Linked DNA regions of Homo sapiens: regions 2, 3 and 4 are each linked to region 1. The links are contacts of gene promoters, found by promoter capture Hi-C in blood cells and fetal thymus (Javierre and others, 2016). All regions are on one chromosome and are shown on one strand. The core of a region is centred on a gene start or on the middle of the fragment in contact, and the rest is flanking DNA. Distances in the headings are between cores, read along the strand shown. Region 1 holds the start of ZNF783 (zinc finger protein 783). Region 2 has its middle 7.3 kb from the start of TRC-GCA22-1. Region 3 has its middle 2.5 kb from the start of TRC-GCA16-1. Region 4 has its middle 20 kb from the start of TRC-GCA16-1.

The links. Contacts are between HindIII fragments. The CHiCAGO score rates a contact against its expected background, and 5 or more counts as called.
Region 2: a fragment that was not itself captured here is called in contact with the fragment with the promoter of ZNF783 in region 1 in 5 of 17 cell types (erythroblasts, monocytes, endothelial precursors and 2 more); the score reaches 9.3 in erythroblasts.
Region 3: a fragment that was not itself captured here is called in contact with the fragment with the promoter of ZNF783 in region 1 in 9 of 17 cell types (neutrophils, naive CD8 T cells, M1 macrophages and 6 more); the score reaches 9.4 in neutrophils.
Region 4: a fragment that was not itself captured here is called in contact with the fragment with the promoter of ZNF783 in region 1 in 1 of 17 cell types (neutrophils); the score reaches 7.7 in neutrophils.

What each region holds. Positions count from the first base shown.
Region 1 is chr7:149,260,841-149,263,661 of GRCh38, forward strand. ZNF783 (zinc finger protein 783) reads left to right here and starts at 1,356. Exons shown (of 6, transcript NM_001195220.2): 1 at 1,356-1,517. The coding sequence starts at 1,494. It overlaps LOC124901769 (a long non-coding RNA gene), which reads right to left and starts at 1,501. Exons shown (of 2, transcript XR_007060582.1): 1 at 807-1,501. RefSeq lists a silencer at 954-1,823. The HindIII fragment of the contact is 3,928 bases long and covers 539-2,821 here.
Region 2 is chr7:149,562,588-149,565,408 of GRCh38, forward strand. It overlaps the pseudogene ZNF767P. Among named protein-coding and RNA genes, the nearest start is that of TRC-GCA22-1, 7.3 kb to the left of the region's middle. The HindIII fragment of the contact is 669 bases long and covers 1,143-1,811 here.
Region 3 is chr7:149,542,661-149,545,481 of GRCh38, forward strand. No RefSeq gene overlaps it. Among named protein-coding and RNA genes, the nearest start is that of TRC-GCA16-1, 2.5 kb to the right of the region's middle. The HindIII fragment of the contact is 1,807 bases long and covers 441-2,247 here.
Region 4 is chr7:149,525,282-149,528,102 of GRCh38, forward strand. No RefSeq gene overlaps it. Among named protein-coding and RNA genes, the nearest start is that of TRC-GCA16-1, 20 kb to the right of the region's middle. The HindIII fragment of the contact is 6,318 bases long and covers 1-2,821 here.

The sequences.
Region 1 (2,821 bases), core at 106-2,605:
CCACGGCTCCTGGCCCATTTTCCTGACCCTTTCTGTTTGCATTGGACCTTAACTGTTATTCTATAACGTCACCATTTACTGGTATTTTATAATCCTGAATAGATTGGACTGATCCCTGATAAGATCCTAGGGATGCTCTTAATGTCTTTAGTGCATACTTGCAGTTTGTGTTTTAGATTGGGATAGTTCAACAAGAATTTCCAAAATGAATAATGCCAAATATTTATTTGATTTGTTACCTTAAAGTAACACGTCCTAACCTTTCCGCAAATTTTGGGGTTCACCTTACTTAGGATATCAGTTTGTGTTTTTTCTGATAGTTGACCACGCTTTTGCTTGGCTCAAATATTTGTGAAAATAACTTCTCACCCTCACCCCCCCCCCCCAAAAAAGAAAAAACAAAACCAAAACCAAAAAACCCCAAACAAACCCAAACACAGAAAGAAACAAAACTGCAGATTTCTAGCGGGAAGAGTTTGCCAGCTTGTTGGACAAAGACTGTGAGATGAATGGGAAATGCAGAAAAGACAGAAAACAAAGCTTCAACTGCATACAGCACATTTAGTTCAATATGCCTCAGCACAGGCCGAGGAAAATGGGTCCTGCGGTTTATTCAAGATGCCTCAGGGCCTAAATGAGGGATGGACTGATTCACACTTGCTGTGATCTCAGCCTGGACCAAAGCTACAGAAGGGTCCTCGTGGGTGGCTGAGGACTTTCACCAGGCGGGCCCCGGGAGGAGGAAGGGACCCCAGAGTCCTCAGGAGGGGAGGGCAGGCTTAGGAAAAAAAAAAAAAAAATCCTACCATCTTCACGTTTGTTCTGTCAAATTTAAAAGAGACTTTAAAAACGTTCATGTAAGTTTCCCTGGCTTCTCCCTGGGTACACACGTATCCTTTTTACTTTCCCCAACTCAGTTCTGTGGTGCGTGGGAGGCGCTGCAACAGAGTCTCGGTCCGGACTGGAGCCCCGGCGAGGGCCGACCCCGTTCCCCACGCAGCTTTCCCTCGCGAGGTTTCGCACTTTCCAGCGCGGTTCCTTCCCGCAGCCCTCCCGGCTCCCGCGTGGGACGCAGAGAGAGGTTGGGCGCCGCGCTGGCCCGGGAGTGGCTTACGCCTGACGTAGCCCCGCTGGAGGCCGTGGCACGCCCGCCCTGGCGTCAACTCCCGCGCCCCGGGTGAGGGTGGGTGGCCGCGCCTGGGTCCCGGACGCCGCGGGCGCTGAAGGCCTCGGGAGGGCGCGGGGCGGCGGCCGCGGGCGTGCGGTCCTACGGGCTGCAGGGGGCGCTGTGCGCGTCCTCAAGCTCGGCCGCCGAGCGCAGCTCTTTTTTAAAGGGCCAGCGGGGCACGTGGCTCGGGACGCAGTTCGCTGCCGCCCGGCAGTAGCTCTCAGGTTAGGCGGGTCCCGCTCCGCTTCCGCCGTCGCTGCCGCGCCGCCCCGGGCCCGACAGGCCGGGTCCAGGGACTGCAACCCAGCGAGGGACGCGGGCAGCCATGGCCGAAGCGGCGCCTGCCCGGGTAAGCGCCCTCGGCCCCGCGGACGCCCGGAAGGCCCAGGCCGCCGCCGCGTGAGCCCGCGCGAGGGACTCTGGCCGCGCGAGGCCGCGGGGTGAGAGGGCCTTGCGCGCAGCCTCCGCGCTCGTTGCCCCCGGCCCATCGCCCAGCCCGCGTCGAAGGCATTGACCGGGCGGCCCAAATGCCAGGCCCGGCGGGCGGGGCCCCGACGTCAGCGGCTGACGATCCGGCCCATCTGCGGCCTCAGCCAGGCCGGGCCCCAGAGTCACGCTCGGCGACGAGGAGGCCGCGCCTTAGGAGTATTGTCCCATTTGAGGCCTCGCGGCCCCCCCTACAGCAGGCTGGGCGGGCAGGGGCCGCCAGCCCCACGGGACAGTAGCGGAGGCTGAGATGGGAAGGGACAGGCCCAGGGTCACGCATCTATTAGAGGCGGGAGCCTCACGCCGGGGCAGGGATTTTGGAATTAGACACTTTAAAACGCCTCATATTCTACTTTTGCCAAAGAGAAAGATTGTGTCGTTTACAAGAGAGATAGTAGATTTTTTTAAAAAAGATTACTGTAGCAGATTTTATTTAATTTTTTTTTTTGAGAGGGAGTCTCGCTCTGTTGCGCATGCTGGATGGAGTGCAGTGGCACGATCTCGGCTCACTGCAAGCTCCGCCTCCCGGCTTCAAGGGATTCTCCTGCCTCAGCCTCCCAAGTAGCTGGGACTACAGGCGCCTGCTACCACGCCTGGCTAATTTTTCTATTTTTGGTAGAGACTGGGTTTCACTATGTTGGCCAGGCTGGTCTCGAACCCCTGACCTCGTGATCTGCCCGCCCCGGCCTCCCAAAGTGCTGGGATTACAGACGAGAGCTACCGCGCCCGGCCATTTTAAAATTTTTTAATTAAAAAAGTATATATATATACGTGTGTGTGTGTGTGTGTGTGTGTGTGTGTGTGTGTGTGTATATATATATATATATATATTTTTTTTTTAGACACAGTCTCACTCTCACCCAGGGTGGAGTGTAGTGGCGGGATCTCATCTCACTGCAACCTCTGCCTCTGCCTCCCGGGTTCAAGGTATTCTCCTGCCTCAGCCTCCCAATCCCAAGTAGCTGGGATTACAGGCGCAGGTGCCTGTCTCATTTATATCTATCTATCTATCTGTCCAGATACATATCTATATGAATAAGTTTATTCATAAGAATACACTATAAGTATTCCTATACAGAATTTTTCTCCTGGAGAAGGAAGAATCACATCAGTTTTTTTGGCATCTTCATCTATATAAGTTAGGCCAGTTTAGCAGATTTTAGAATC
Region 2 (2,821 bases), core at 227-2,726, 300 kb after region 1:
GCAAAAATAAACAAAATTGAAAAAGAGAAATGGATAAACCTCTGCTGGATCTTTCAAGTGAGAGATCTTAAAAACCCTCGTGAATTTGTAAACAAGCACACATAGTATCAAAAGGACACAGACGATTTGGACAACATGACTAACAAAACTGACCTGTTTAACATGTAAAGAATCTTGCACTTAAATGCAGAATATGCATTTTTTTCCAAGCACACGTGGAACACTGACAAACATGAGTTGTATACTGAACCACAAAGCGAGTCTTAACAAATTCCAAAGTATTGAAATCATAAACAGCATGTTTTCTGACAAAAATAAAATTAAGCTAGAAATTAATAACATCAAATAACTAACAAATCCAACAAATATTAGAAAATCTTTGTGTTTAGAAACTAAAAATTCTACATATAAATAACCCATGGGTCAAAGAATAAATTGTAATAGGAATTATAAAATATTTTGAACTAAATGATGAAAATACTAGATATTAAAATTTATCAGTTGCAGCTCTAGAGTACTTACATGGCAATTTACAGTCTTAATGCATCTCTAGTATTATAGAAAGAAAAGGTTAAAATGAACAAACTAAGCATCTCTCCCAAAAGGCATGAATAATAGTAAAATGAATCCAAGGAAAAAATAAGGGAGAAAGTAATACATTAATTAATGAAAGCACAAATTAATTAAGTAGAAAACACACAAGAGAGAGGGTCAATGAAGCTAAAGTTGTTTTTTGAAACAAACAATAAAAGTAATAACCCAGACAAGATTGACAAAGTAACACTAATAACCAATATCAGGAGAGAAAAGGATGCATTATTATAGTTCCCCCAAAATTAAAAAGATTGTAAGATATTATTATGAGCAATTTTATGCCAATGAAATGTAATATTTACATGGCATGGAAAAGTTTCTAGAAAAGTAAAACTTACATGAAGAGAGAAATTCTTTGTCTGCTTGATGGTCTTGGCTCTCTCTCCCTTCTCATTAATCTACTTTAGTTTAGCAGTACTAAACTGGTTCAAAGGAAAAAAATACAATTTTTTAGCTGATACAGGTACCATTATGCCAACCTCATAAGCACTTGGTGGCAATGCTCCACATTCTCCTGTCTACCAGCAAGGCTGATTCTTTTGCCAAGAAGCTTCTACTATTAAGTATTCCCTCCAAACTTCCCTGTAAATATCTGATGTGGCACAGAGAAAGAACGTCTCTTCTGGAGTACTTGCTACCGTGTGTCTAACTGTGTCCAGCTCAAGAACATGTTTCCTTGAAATAAAGAGAGTTTGGGAAGTTGCAGACATTCTGATGCATTGTTTGTAACTTTTCCCAAATAAATCTTACTTTATGCTTATACTAGTGGTATTTGTCCTCGACATCTGGCTTAATTTTATCAAAATTGACACAAGAAGAAGTAAAAATCATGACTAATCATGGAACAATTAAGGAACTTGTATTTTCAATGAAACATTCTGCCATTAAAAAAGTAACAAAAAACTTCCAGGCACAGATAGTTTAAACACTTGTTATACCAAACACTTGTTATACCAATCACTTCAGAATGAAACGATGTAAGTCTTACACAGACACTTCTGGAGAATAGAAAACTAAAAGCAGCAGTCCCTTTCCCACCTCATTTTATGAGGTTAAACTTATTATAAAAAATAACAAAGACAATGTAAGAAAACAGGCCAATCTCACATATTAATATAGAATAGACTTTAAAAACCATAAGCAAAACTATTAATAAATCAAAGCCAGCATTACATAAAAAATAACACATAACCAAATTAAGATCATTTCAGAATGTAAGCTTGACTTAACATTAGAAAAATCTATTACTGTAATTCACCACACTATAGGATATAGCAAATGCTGTTGCTGCCCCACTGATATTCCTTCAGAACTTATCAGTTCTGTGCATGCAGGCCCCAATTTCAACTGTCAGCACCTGTAACTTTATGTCTGAGGGCATTCTCAGGCTGCCCAAACATGTAACAGGCTGAAAGTACCAAATAATTAGGACCCAACCTTCGAAAGCAACCCTCTACCGATGACTGATAGCAGTAGATGGAGAAATACACAAGTTGCCTTGTTCTTTTGGAGAGGATAACCCTCAAGCATGTTATACATCTTACAAAGTCCCCAACGGTATTAAGCTCCAGTTGCCTATAATGGTAACTTGTCCAATATCCCACTGTGAAAGTTGTCAGAATGAAAATGGAGTCACTTGTGTTAAAACCCGGCAAATGGAGCCAGGGAAGGCCACAAAGGTAGAGCTTTTATATATGAATTCCTGATAACAAGAACTATCACAAAAGACTGTAAAAACCACAACCTTGCACAAAGGCCATTGTAACCTTACACACTCACAAAAAATACTTCTGCAAGGACATCTGCCCAGCAAAAGCCTGACTAGCCTTGGACTGTTGCCACCCTTGTTACTGATTGCTAGAGCCAAGAATTATTTCTCCAAAACAATTTATATAATCCTTCTCATTTTGCCTTTAAAAACTTTCCCTTACCATGACCTCCTCAAAAACACACATAGTTTACTGTGACACCTGTATTCCCATTGCCAATGCTCATTCCCTAAATAAATATAATTTCCTTTCAGAGAGCTTCCGTCTGTTATTTAGGTTAACACCACCTTTTATTGGCTTCTTTCCTTTCTCTGACTTCCCACTCCTTACTGGTGTTTCCTGAACTTACCTCCCAAATAAACTACTTGCTCTTAAATTCTAGCTTCAGGGTCTGCTTCTAAGGAAATCCAAGCTAAGACAACAGATTAAAGGAAAAAAATCATGTCATTAAAATAGAT
Region 3 (2,821 bases), core at 94-2,593, 280 kb after region 1:
TGGGTGATGCAGCGAGACTCCGTCTCAAAAAAAAAAAAAAAAAAAAAAAAGAAATATTTCCAGTGATAAAGATGGACATTTCATAATGATAAAAGGGTTAATTTATTAAGAAGATGTAAGAATCTTAAGTGTGTACATGCCTAATTACAGAGTTCCAAAACACATAAAGCAAAAACAAAGGGAAGCATAAAGAAAATTGACAAATTCACAATTATAACTGGAGATTTTAGTACTTTCCTTAGTAACAAGTAACACAAACAAGCAAAAAAGTCAGTAAGAATATAGATTTAAACCACACTATTAACCAACTTATTTAAATTGCACTTATGTAACACAACATCCAACAACTACACAATACACATTTTTTTCAAGTGCATATCGAATATTTACCAACATAGACCATATGTTGGGCCATAAAACAAGTCTGAATCAATTTTAAAAGCTTTGGATCATACAGAGTATGAACATCTATGAATGTGTCTCCTGGTGCACATGTAGCAGAGTTTCTATAGGGCATATGCCCGAGAGAGAAATGAGAGTATATGCATGAGTAGCTTTACTAAATAATACTAAACTGTTTTTCAAAGAAGTTATACAGGTGTATGATATGCTCTTACCAGCAGTGTAGAAGAGCTCTCATTGGTTTACATCATTGGAGTAGAAAATGTACTCTGACACCATGGAGTGCCAGGAAATTTAATTTCTTACTAATTTGGTGACGGCTGTAACATGGTATTCCATTTTAAATTGCATTTACCTGATTACCACTGAGGTTAAGCATTTTGTATATGTCTAGTAGTCTTTCCTGTTACTTCTAAGAAATGCTTGTCAAGTTCTTTGCTTATTTTTCTCCTCTCCTTTTGGCTATTTTCTTATCAAGATAGTCTGTATTCTGGATAGAAGTCCTTTGTTGACTACCTGGTTGTGCCAGAAATTAAACTATACTGTCTCTTAGCTCTGAGCCCACCCTTCTTGACCCTGCTTACTGAGGCTGTGGCACTCTGCAAACTACATTTCTCATCTACCTGCTGGCTTCCTGCAGATTCTGCTGATTGAAGCAATAGATGAGGATGGGACGGCAGAAAGAGAAGAATGGGACATGCTTTTGTTCCATTTGTTGTTCCCATCAGCGCAGCCCCAGCAATGACCCTTAATGCTGGAAGCACTGGGTCTTGTGCCAGCTTTCTTATGGCACTCCTGGAACCACCCTCATTGGCAGCGCTCTACCTTGGAAGACCCACCTTCTGAGCTCCTGAGTTACTGGCACCAGCTGGGCAGCACCCCATCCTCACAAGTGTGAGGTCCAATTCCTCAGAGCCCCTGCTCCACAATTCTCTATTCTGATAACTGCAGCCTCTTCACTTTTTCTCTCAAAACTAGCAGGAGAAAGCTGCTTCCAGACGTTATTATCTCTGCATCACCTTGGGGTTCTCTTTGCCTTTCCATTTCATGAATGCCTATTTAACCAATACTTTATAATCAATTCTTTCTGTTGAAATGCCGAGTGTAGTTTCTGATTTCTTACTCTACCTTGGCTGATACAATGATTCACAAACCTCTCTTCCTGCTATGTGACTCACCTTTTCACTATCTGAGGGCTTTCAGAACAGAGACGTTTCTTAACTGCAATGAACCAGAATGGATTAATACATGGATTAATAAATCTTTTTTTATATTGTCTTAATTTGAAAATCCTTCTTCTACTCCAATATCATAAGAATTTTCTCATATTTTCTAAATTTGTTAAAAAGATTTTTTTATATTTAGGTCTTGAATCCTCTTGGAATTTATTTTGTGAATGAATATCTAATTGTCCTAGCACTCTTTTATCAGAGAGTACACCCTTTCTTCACTGGTCTACAATGCTGCCTCTCTCATATATCAGGTTTCTATCTATGGATAGTCAATTTTTAGAATCCCCATTCTCTTCATTAGTTTTGTTTGTGTACCCTTATGTCAATACTACACGGTCTTATAACATTATAAGTCTTCATATCTGGTAGCGCTGGTTTCCTTGCCTAATTATTTTTCTTCAGATAAACTCTACCTATTCCCAACTCTTTATTTTCCCACATAATTTTTAACATTAGTGTGTCAATTACTATAAAAATCACTATTAGGATTTTGATTGCAATTGCATTAAATCTGTAAATTTGGAGAGCAGTATCTTTACAAAATTGTCTTGTCCTATCCAAAAACAAAGCATACTTCTCTACTTATTTAAGTACCCTTTAAATATTTCAATGAAGCTTTAAAATAGTCTAAACAAAGGTCTTGTACAACTTGTATTTATTCCTAGGGAGCCTGTATTTTTGTTACTCTGTTAAGAAATTTCATTTCTGTTACAGGTGTGTGGAAATATATTTGATTTAAAATAAGTTTATTGTATAACTTATTTGAATTTATTAAAATTAATAATTCAGATAATTTGTAGATTACTTTGTGTTTTCTATATAACCACAGTGTCACTGAAATAATGGGTGTTTTGTTTCTTCTATTCCACTGAAAAACCCTACTTTTTTGGTCTTAAATGCACTACCTCTAGCTTTTGGTGGTTTTAAATAGAAACAAAGCTACCACGCATCTTTGTCATTTCCAGTTTTTAAGAGAATGCTTCTAACGTTGCACCATTAAGTATGACGGTTGCTGGTTGTAGACTTTTGGACTTTTTAGAGTCTTATTGTTTAACAAGAAGAATTTTAACATGAGGATTTCTTTTAATTCCTTCCTTGCCTTTTCCCTTTCCAATAAGAGAGGACCATTGTTGGGGGAGCCAGAAGACCGAGAGAGTAGCCAGTGACAGAGCTCCACGTGTCTGTGA
Region 4 (2,821 bases), core at 208-2,707, 260 kb after region 1:
CTCTTTCTTTCTATATACACACGTGTGTGTGTACATATAGATATACATATGTTTTTTCTGAATCATTTGAAAGTTAGTTGGAGAAATCCTGGAACCCCTAAATATTTCTACATATATCTTCTAAGAACAAAGGCATTCTCCTATATAATCACAATATACTCAGAAAGTTTATGAATTACACAATCAGCTGTTATGCAATGCACATTCTATATTTCTTAATTATCCCAATAATATCATTGACAGTCTTTTATTTCTAATGCAGGACCCAATCAACGCTTTTGTTTGTATATGGTTTCCATGCATTTTAAGATCACTTTAATCTAGACTAGTTCTCTAGACTTCTGTTTTCTTTCACGATGTTGACATTTTTGAGGAGCCTGAGCCAGCTGTTTTGCAGAATGTCCCTGTATTCAATATCTATACAGCAGCATGACTGGATCTCACAAACATAAAAGTATGTAAAGTCAAAAATAGGCCCAAAATATGCTAAAATTAGTATATTGGTTTCTTTGGAGAGGATTTGTCTAATTGTTTTCTCATTATTTAAATAAAGTTCAATATTTTGGTAAAATTACTACAGAGGTGGGGTTGTGCTCTTCTCAGTGTATCACATCAGGAGGCAAGGAAGTCAGTTTGTCCCATGACTGGTGGAGTTGAATTTGATTATTTAACTTAAATGGTGTTTGACATATTTTTAAAAATTCTGTTCTCCAACAATATTCAACTAACAAATTTAGCATCTGATAATGATTGTTACCCAAATCAATTACTACAATGATGTTTATAAAATGATGTTTTATATTTCCATCATTCCATCTATATTTGTTAGTTAATTTTTTTGGTAAGGAAGAGATTTTCTCTCTTTACATTAAATAAAAAAATAAATTTACTAATATGGATTCACAGACTCTTTAATGAGCTATAAAATATTCCTATCTTTATTTGTTGCAATGCTTAAATTGCCCTAAATTTAGCTAGGAGTGAGTCTCTTCAGGCTGGCTCCTGTGTTCTGTTGACATAACTCTATCAGTTTTTAAGCACTTTCTTCTGGCACAAGATGTTCCATTGTTTACCTTTTAGGTTTCCTGTCCAGCCCTGGAATCAGACATTTCTTCAGGAGTTCCTGACTTCCCTTTCTTTCTTTCTCTTTCTTTCTTTTTCTTTCTCTTTTCTTTTTTCTTTCTTTTTTTCTTTTCTTTCTCCTTCCTTCCTTCCTTTCTTTTCTTTTTCTTTCTTTTCTTTCTTTCTCTCTCTTTTCTTTTTTTTTTTTCAGAGTCTCGCTCTGTCACCCAGGCTGAAGTGCAGTGGCGTGATCTCGGCTCACTGCAAGCTCCACCTCCCGGGTTCACGCCTCTGCCTCCCGAGTAGCTGGGACTACAGGTGCCCGCCACCACACCCGGCTAATTTTTATTTATTTATTTATTTTTTTAGTAGAGACAGGTTTTCACCATGTTAGCCAGGATGGTCTTGATCTCCTGACCTCGTGATCCACCTGCCTTGGCCTCCCAAAGTGCTGGGATTACAGGCGTGAGCCACCACGTCTGGTCTCCTGATTCCTCTTAAGGGAATTTAATTCTAAATTATGGGCATTAAGAGTGCTCAATGCAACTAAATGATTGTTTCTGGTCCCTTTCAGAAGGCAGTTATGAAATTCTGTGTGTGTGTGTGTGTGTGTGTGTGTGTGTATTTACACCACTACTTACAATGTCAGTCCAACACTGTGGTACTTCCTTGCCTCCCTCTGAGAGAGGAGAAAGGAAAAAAACCCAGTTGAGCTGACAGTTAAGGCAGGTACTAAGTAGAATTTTTTCAAACAGAGAAACAGCCTGAAAAATAAAGCTGCAGGCCAGGCGTGGTGGATCATGCTTGTAATCCCAGCACTCTGGGAGGCCAAGGCAGGCGGATCACAAGGTCAGGAGATCAAGACCATCCTGGCTAGCATGGTGAAACCCTGTCTCTACTGAAAATACAAAAAAATTAGCCAGGTGTGGCGGGTGCCTGTAGTCCCAGCTATTCAGGAGGCTAAGGCAGGAGAATGGCGTGAACCTGGGAGGCAGAGCTTGCAGTGAGCTGAGATTGCACCACTGCACTCCAGCCTGGGCAGCAGAGTGAGACTCCGTCTCAAAAAAAAAAAAAAAAAAAAAAAATCAAGCTGCAGCTGCACAGATATGGGAGCAAGCCCCAATAAAGAAATGCCTTTGTTCTTTGTATGATCAACAGGCTCCCAAGAAAAGGTTTCCTCCCTTTCTATGAACATGCAAATGGTGGGCTCCGTGGAAACTTGCATGTTGGGGGAGGCTTACCTGAGACATGCTGCAGCTGCACAGATAAGGGCAGTTACACAGACAGCTACACAGATAGGGAAAGTTTCTTAAAAAACCCTTTGTATTCAACTGAAAAAATGGCAATGCTTCTGGGCCCCCTGCTGTGGAGAGCTTTCCTCTTTTGCTTATTAAACTTTTGCTCCAACCTCACCCTTGGTGTCCACACTCCTTAATGTTCTTGGTTGTGAGACAAAGAGCTTGGGTAATACCTCAGACAACAAGACTGCAACACTGTGGCGTGTTGGCCAGGAAACGACATATTGGAATGGTGAGCAGGAGCTGACCTCCAACTCTTTACTTTCATTTCTGAGACTTCTCATTCTCAGTTTTTAAAAATTAAACAAAACACTGGAACCCTGTCAGCCAGTTAAAGATGAATAATGTGGCTGCCAGCCTTACAAGACTAAGGGGACAGACATGCTGGAGAGGACTTTGTCAATCCCCGATCACCCTCAGGTAGTGGGAATGTTGGCTCTGTTCCAATCCAGTTTCCTTTC